Linked DNA regions of Homo sapiens: region 2 is linked to region 1. Evidence: promoter capture Hi-C in human tissues and cell types (Jung and others, 2019). All regions are on one chromosome and are shown on one strand. Each heading gives the region's core, a stretch centred on a gene start or on the middle of the fragment in contact. The rest is flanking DNA. Distances are from core to core; before and after follow the strand shown.

Region 1 (2,700 bases), core at 21-2,520:
AGGCAGGAGAATCGCTTGAGCCTGGGAGGCGGAGATTGCAGTGAGCCGAGACTGTGCCACTGTATTCCATCCTGGGCAACACAGCGAGACTCCATATCCAAAAAAAAAAAAAAAAGGTGGGGCATGTGTGAAGGTTGCTGAGGAGGTGATGTCCTATGAGCAAATAGGAGCTTATACTCAAGGTGGAGGAAACAGCCTCTGCAAAGGTTGTAAAGTCAGAAGGAGCTTGTGTTGGATGGAGAAATTGAAAGACCTGAGGATTGCAAAGTGGCTGGCAAGCAGACGGGTTTGGAATAGACATTGGAAGAAGCTTTTAGGGCATCCTAGACAGCGTTGCGATGCTTGGGGCAGGGGCAGGAAAAAGCCACTGATGGACTTTCAGGGCAGAGCTGTAATCGAGTTGATGTTTCAGATTTAGTCGAAGGGTGTGAGAGGGCTGAGACGGAGAAAGTGGTGTGGCAGAAGAGGTTGCTGGTGGCCATGGGTCGGGGTGCAGATTATGAGAGAACTCTGGCCAGTGACTGCTCACCCGGGGCAGCGTTGAGTCCATCAACACCGTTTTGGTCTCTTAACCTGAGGCTAGTGGCTGGGCAGTGAGCTAATCCCAAAGCTTCCGTCTGTACCACAGTCTTGGGGTGCTACCTTGTCCTTATCACACTCTGGGGTAACTTGAAGCCCTTCTCAAAGATCTCCTGTGATGGGACTTTCCTTAACTTGACTCACATTTGACTCAGTTCAAAGTGCCCAGCGGGCCAAGGCCTCTCTCAATGGGGCTGATATCTATTCTGGCTGTTGCACTCTGAAGATCGAATACGCAAAGGTACATCTGGGAGGTGACTGACTGCCCCTTGTCAGCTTCCAGGTGAGCTGGGGCATGGCTGACCTCAAGTCTTGTCTTGTCCTGTCCTTGCAGCCTACACGCTTGAATGTGTTCAAGAATGATCAGGATACTTGGGACTACACAAACCCCAATCTCAGTGGACAAGGTAATCTTGACGACCACTTTGTTCTAAACATACCCGCCTTGCTTTCACTCGACTAGTGCACTTAATAGGCCTGGGCTCAGGGTTATGTAATGCCATTGGGCCCCCCATGGACATGGGAGGGCCTTGGGGTCAGCACTTGGACACCCTAGTGGGATGGGGGAGTGAGAGGCCTCCATGGGTCTTCACTGCTGCTTGGGGCCCTCCGATGCTGCTCAGGATACAGAGGCAAGGCAGAAGCCTGGATGGGCGGGGAGCAGGGCCTCACTGAGGATGAGGCGTGGGGGCGGCCTTAGAAACCAGCAGTGGCTCCTTTGAGAGTCTGGTGAGGGTCACTCACTCCATTCTTGCTGGACCAGGAATTGTCCTCTTGTTCTGCGCTGTTGAGAGGGTCTGATTTGGGGGAGTGACAGTGTTGGGGGGCGATGAGGTCTCCTGGGCTCTTGCAGTGAGCCTTGTGAGCAAGCTGACCCTGTGGAGGTGAGACACTCTGGATTGGACCAGGGCGGACATGCCTCACATCATTTGTAGAGGGGACGCAACATCTCTGCAGGTGGCCCAAATGGACAACTCCCTTCCTAGTGTCTGTCAAGAATGGTTTGCCTTTGGTAGCAGGGAGAGGTGGAGGATTGCCTATGAGAAACAGCGGCAGCCCCCCAACAAGACCATCCATCTCGGTGTCTGTCTTGGTCTGATACGTCGGACCAGGCCATGGGCTGAGGGAGGAGGCTCGATGCTGACATCGCACAGGCCCTGAGAGGCCAGAGCCCCCCATTCCTAGGCAGGCCTGTCTTGCTCGCCCTTGCATCTGGGAAGCAGTGGGCAGGGTGGGCTAGACTCTTCCCCAGGATCCTCACAGTGGGCCCTGTGGGCCTGGCTGCTCCCTCCAAAGGTCAGAGGCAAATTGGTGACCAAGTGAATGTACCAGAGCGGGCAATGGCATTACATGACTGCTAACAGAAACATGGCAACAACCATTTCTTCTCCAAGGAACATAAATAGAAGATGTGCAGACCGGCAGGGGCTAGTGGCAGGGGGCTGGCTGTGCATTGGTTTTGATGCCTCTCAGCTTTGGCAGCCCCAAGGCTGGGGCCCAAAAAAAAACGAGGGCTGATGAGGTGACCTGGAGTGAGGGCGGTGCTTCGCCACCCCTCAGGAACCATACTTCAGCGGCTCTGCCTCTGCACATTGCTCACCAACACACAGGGTAGAAAACCACTAGCTCTTCCTGGAGAGAACAGAACATGCAGCCTCCACCACGTCCCCAGAAACAGCCGCAGACTTGAGCTCACTACATCAAGAACACCACACCGCGCTCCAAGGAACAGCTACAAGCACAGAGACAGAGGCATACAGAGACAAAGAGAGAAAGAGACGCAACATGGCAGCAGACACTGCTTTTTTTATTAAACATTAAAAAAAAGGTCAAAATCCAAGCAAACTTGAACCCGAGAATGTACACAGAAGTAGGAAACACAGAGAACAGAGCTGTCCCAGCCAGCCAGCGAGCGATGCTCTTTTCGGAGAACGTTTCATAGACGGAAGTAGATTCCATGGGCCTCCAAGACAATAGGATCCTCTCTCCATTCCTCGCCATATGGGTTTTGTTTTTTAAGTCATTTGGTTTGGGGAGGGCCTTGTTTTTTTTCTGTTTTGATATTTTTATTTTTTCTGCAGTCACCGGCTGCCAACATAATCTGCACCAACTGGAGATCAG
Region 2 (2,700 bases), core at 168-2,667, 35 kb before region 1:
CCTGGGGATGATTATGGGCCTCGGAGGAGGCATGGACTTTGACTCCAAGAAGGCCTACAGGTGAGGCCCCGCCGGGGGTTGGGGCAGCCTGGAAGGGACAGGGTGAGGTGGGAGCGGGGGCACGAAGGCAGATGAGAGGAGCAGGCAGGGGCGAGCCCGCCTGGGAACTCTGATCTCCTGCTGCACCGCAGGGACGTGGCCTGGCTGGGTGAATGCGACCAGGGCTGCCTGGCCCTTGCTGAGCTCCTTGGATGGAAGGTGAGGAGCTGAGCAACCCCAGCCTGTCCTGAGCCCCATCCCTGGACCCTCTCCCCACCCCATGGGTCCTCTGACCCCATGATGCACAGTGACCTTTGACTTCTGTGACCTTTGCTCCTGCAGAAGGAGCTGGAGGACCTTGTCCGGAGGGAGCACGCCAGCATAGATGCCCAGTCGGGGGCGGGGGTCCCCAACCCCAGCACTTCAGCTTCCCCCAAGAAGTCCCCGCCACCTGCCAAGGACGAGGCCAGGACAACAGAGAGGGAGAAACCCCAGTGACAGCTGCATCTCCCAGGCGGGATGCCGAGCTCCTCAGGGACAGCTGAGCCCCAACCGGGCCTGGCCCCCTCTTAACCAGCAGTTCTTGTCTGGGGAGCTCAGAACATCCCCCAATCTCTTACAGCTCCCTCCCCAAAACTGGGGTCCCAGCAACCCTGGCCCCCAACCCCAGCAAATCTCTAACACCTCCTAGAGGCCAAGGCTTAAACAGGCATCTCTACCAGCCCCACTGTCTCTAACCACTCCTGGGCTAAGGAGTAACCTCCCTCATCTCTAACTGCCCCCACGGGGCCAGGGCTACCCCAGAACTTTTAACTCTTCCAGGACAGGGAGCTTCGGGCCCCCACTCTGTCTCCTGCCCCCGGGGGCCTGTGGCTAAGTAAACCATACCTAACCTACCCCAGTGTGGGTGTGGGCCTCTGAATATAACCCACACCCAGCGTAGGGGGAGTCTGAGCCGGGAGGGCTCCCGAGTCTCTGCCTTCAGCTCCCAAAGTGGGTGGTGGGCCCCCTTCACGTGGGACCCACTTCCCATGCTGGATGGGCAGAAGACATTGCTTATTGGAGACAAATTAAAAACAAAAACAACTAACAATCCGGTCTGGCCTCCTGTTTCTTTCTGTGGGCACCCAGGGAAATCTCTGAAGGGAGGGGGTTAGATCTTGGGCCACTAAGGAACCAGAAAGTCTCCGGGATCCAGAGTGAGGGGTAACAAGAGGGTCCTCACGGGGGCCCTCGTGGCTCTGACCCCTGGACTCCCAGCCTGCCAGTGTCCCTTCCTCTAAGCCCCGTCACTAAAGGCCTGAGGCCCCAGAAAGAGGGAGGAAAGTTGACTTCAGATACCCCAGCCCCGCCTCTTCCCCCTGCCTGCTCAGCTTCCTCTCTCCACTTCCTGCTACTGCAGGCCTCTCCTCCGAGAACAGGTAGGGCCCCCAGGAACCGAGCATCTGGCATCTTCAGCCCCTGCTGCCTCCCTTTGGTATGAGGCAGCTGCCCTGACCCACCCCTGCCACGCACTGCCCACAGCCTCCTCTCCTGCCACGGTACACAAGCAGGCATCTGCTTCCCTCTCCCCTCCCCTCCCCTCCCTTCCTTCCTGCTCTTGCCTGGGCAGGGCACCTGCGCCTCCCTGCCCACCTCCCTCCTTCCTAATAACACCCTGGCCTTCTGGTCAATGGCCTAATGTATTTGTTTAGCTGCCTATTATCCATATGCTACACCTGCCCCAAACAAGAATGGAAGGCCCTGAGGGGAGGAGCCTGTCCTGTTCATCACCCTCTCTCCAGGGCAGAGGCACCTAATTCCAGCCTGTATTCAGTAAATACTGGATGGATGGAAGGAAGGAAGGAAGGGAGGGAGGGAGGGAGGGAGGATGGATCCTCCCCCGATCCAGGTCTCCTGCTCCTGGGACTGCTGCTGGGATAAGTGCCACCCTAAGTGATAACCTACGTAGGACTCTGTACCTGGTTAGGAGCTGGGGCCTGATGGGTGGATGAAGAGAGAGAGGAACAGATGTGTGATAAAGCAAGATGAGTAAAATGTTCATGGTAGAATCTTGGTAGTGGGCATAGGGATGTTTCCTGTACAATTCTTTCAGCTTTTCTCTATGTCTGAAATTTTTCATAATAAAATGCTGGGGGAAGAGATTCAGTGGCCCCTCCATGGTGTGGGAAGGGAGGAAGAGGGGATGTTATTACCTTTCCAGATATAGGGACTGCCTACTCTGGGCCAAGAACTTTTCCAGGCGCTGACTGGGTTTTGCCAAGGGCTGGCCCACATTTACACAGCCCCCATGGCTGTTAAAAATCTTAACATATTTCCTACCACTTCAGTAAAGAGCTATTGTTTTGAGTCCTCTCCCCACACCGCAAGACACACTGGCCTCTCTCCTGGGATCCCCAGATTCCCCACCATCCGGTACTAAAGATTTAACCCCTGCCGGCCGGGTGTGGTGGCTCATGCCTGTAATCTCAGCACTTTGGGAGGCCGAGGCGGGGGGATCACTTGAGGTCAGGAGTTTGAGACCAGCCTGGGTAACACGTCAAAACCTTGTCTCTACTAAAAAATACAAAAATTACCCAGGCGTGGTGGTGCACGCCTGTAATCCCAACTACTCGGGAGACTGAGGCACAAGAATCGCTTGAACCTACGAGGCGGAGGTTG

Evidence for each region. Contacts are between HindIII fragments. The study calls those that stand out against the background at their distance.
Region 2: a contact is called between the fragment with the promoter of RINL here and a fragment that was not itself captured in region 1, in 2 of the 25 tissues and cell types used here (dorsolateral prefrontal cortex and lymphoblastoid cells).

What each region holds. Positions count from the first base shown.
Region 1 is chr19:38,842,128-38,844,827 of GRCh38, reverse strand. HNRNPL (heterogeneous nuclear ribonucleoprotein L) reads left to right here. Exons shown (of 13, transcript NM_001533.3): 5 at 724-820; 6 at 914-986. Among named protein-coding and RNA genes, the nearest start is that of HNRNPL, 6.5 kb to the left of the region's middle. RefSeq lists enhancers at 1,417-1,917, 2,000-2,079. The HindIII fragment of the contact is 4,246 bases long and covers 1-2,700 here.
Region 2 is chr19:38,876,992-38,879,691 of GRCh38, reverse strand. RINL (Ras and Rab interactor like) reads left to right here and starts at 1,417. Exons shown (of 12, transcript NM_001195833.2): 1 at 1,417-1,460. It overlaps SIRT2 (sirtuin 2), which reads left to right. Exons shown (of 16, transcript NM_012237.4): 14 at 1-60; 15 at 192-258; 16 at 382-1,132. The coding sequence ends at 537. RefSeq lists enhancers at 781-880, 921-1,040 and a silencer at 1,581-1,630. The HindIII fragment of the contact is 14,230 bases long and covers 1-2,700 here.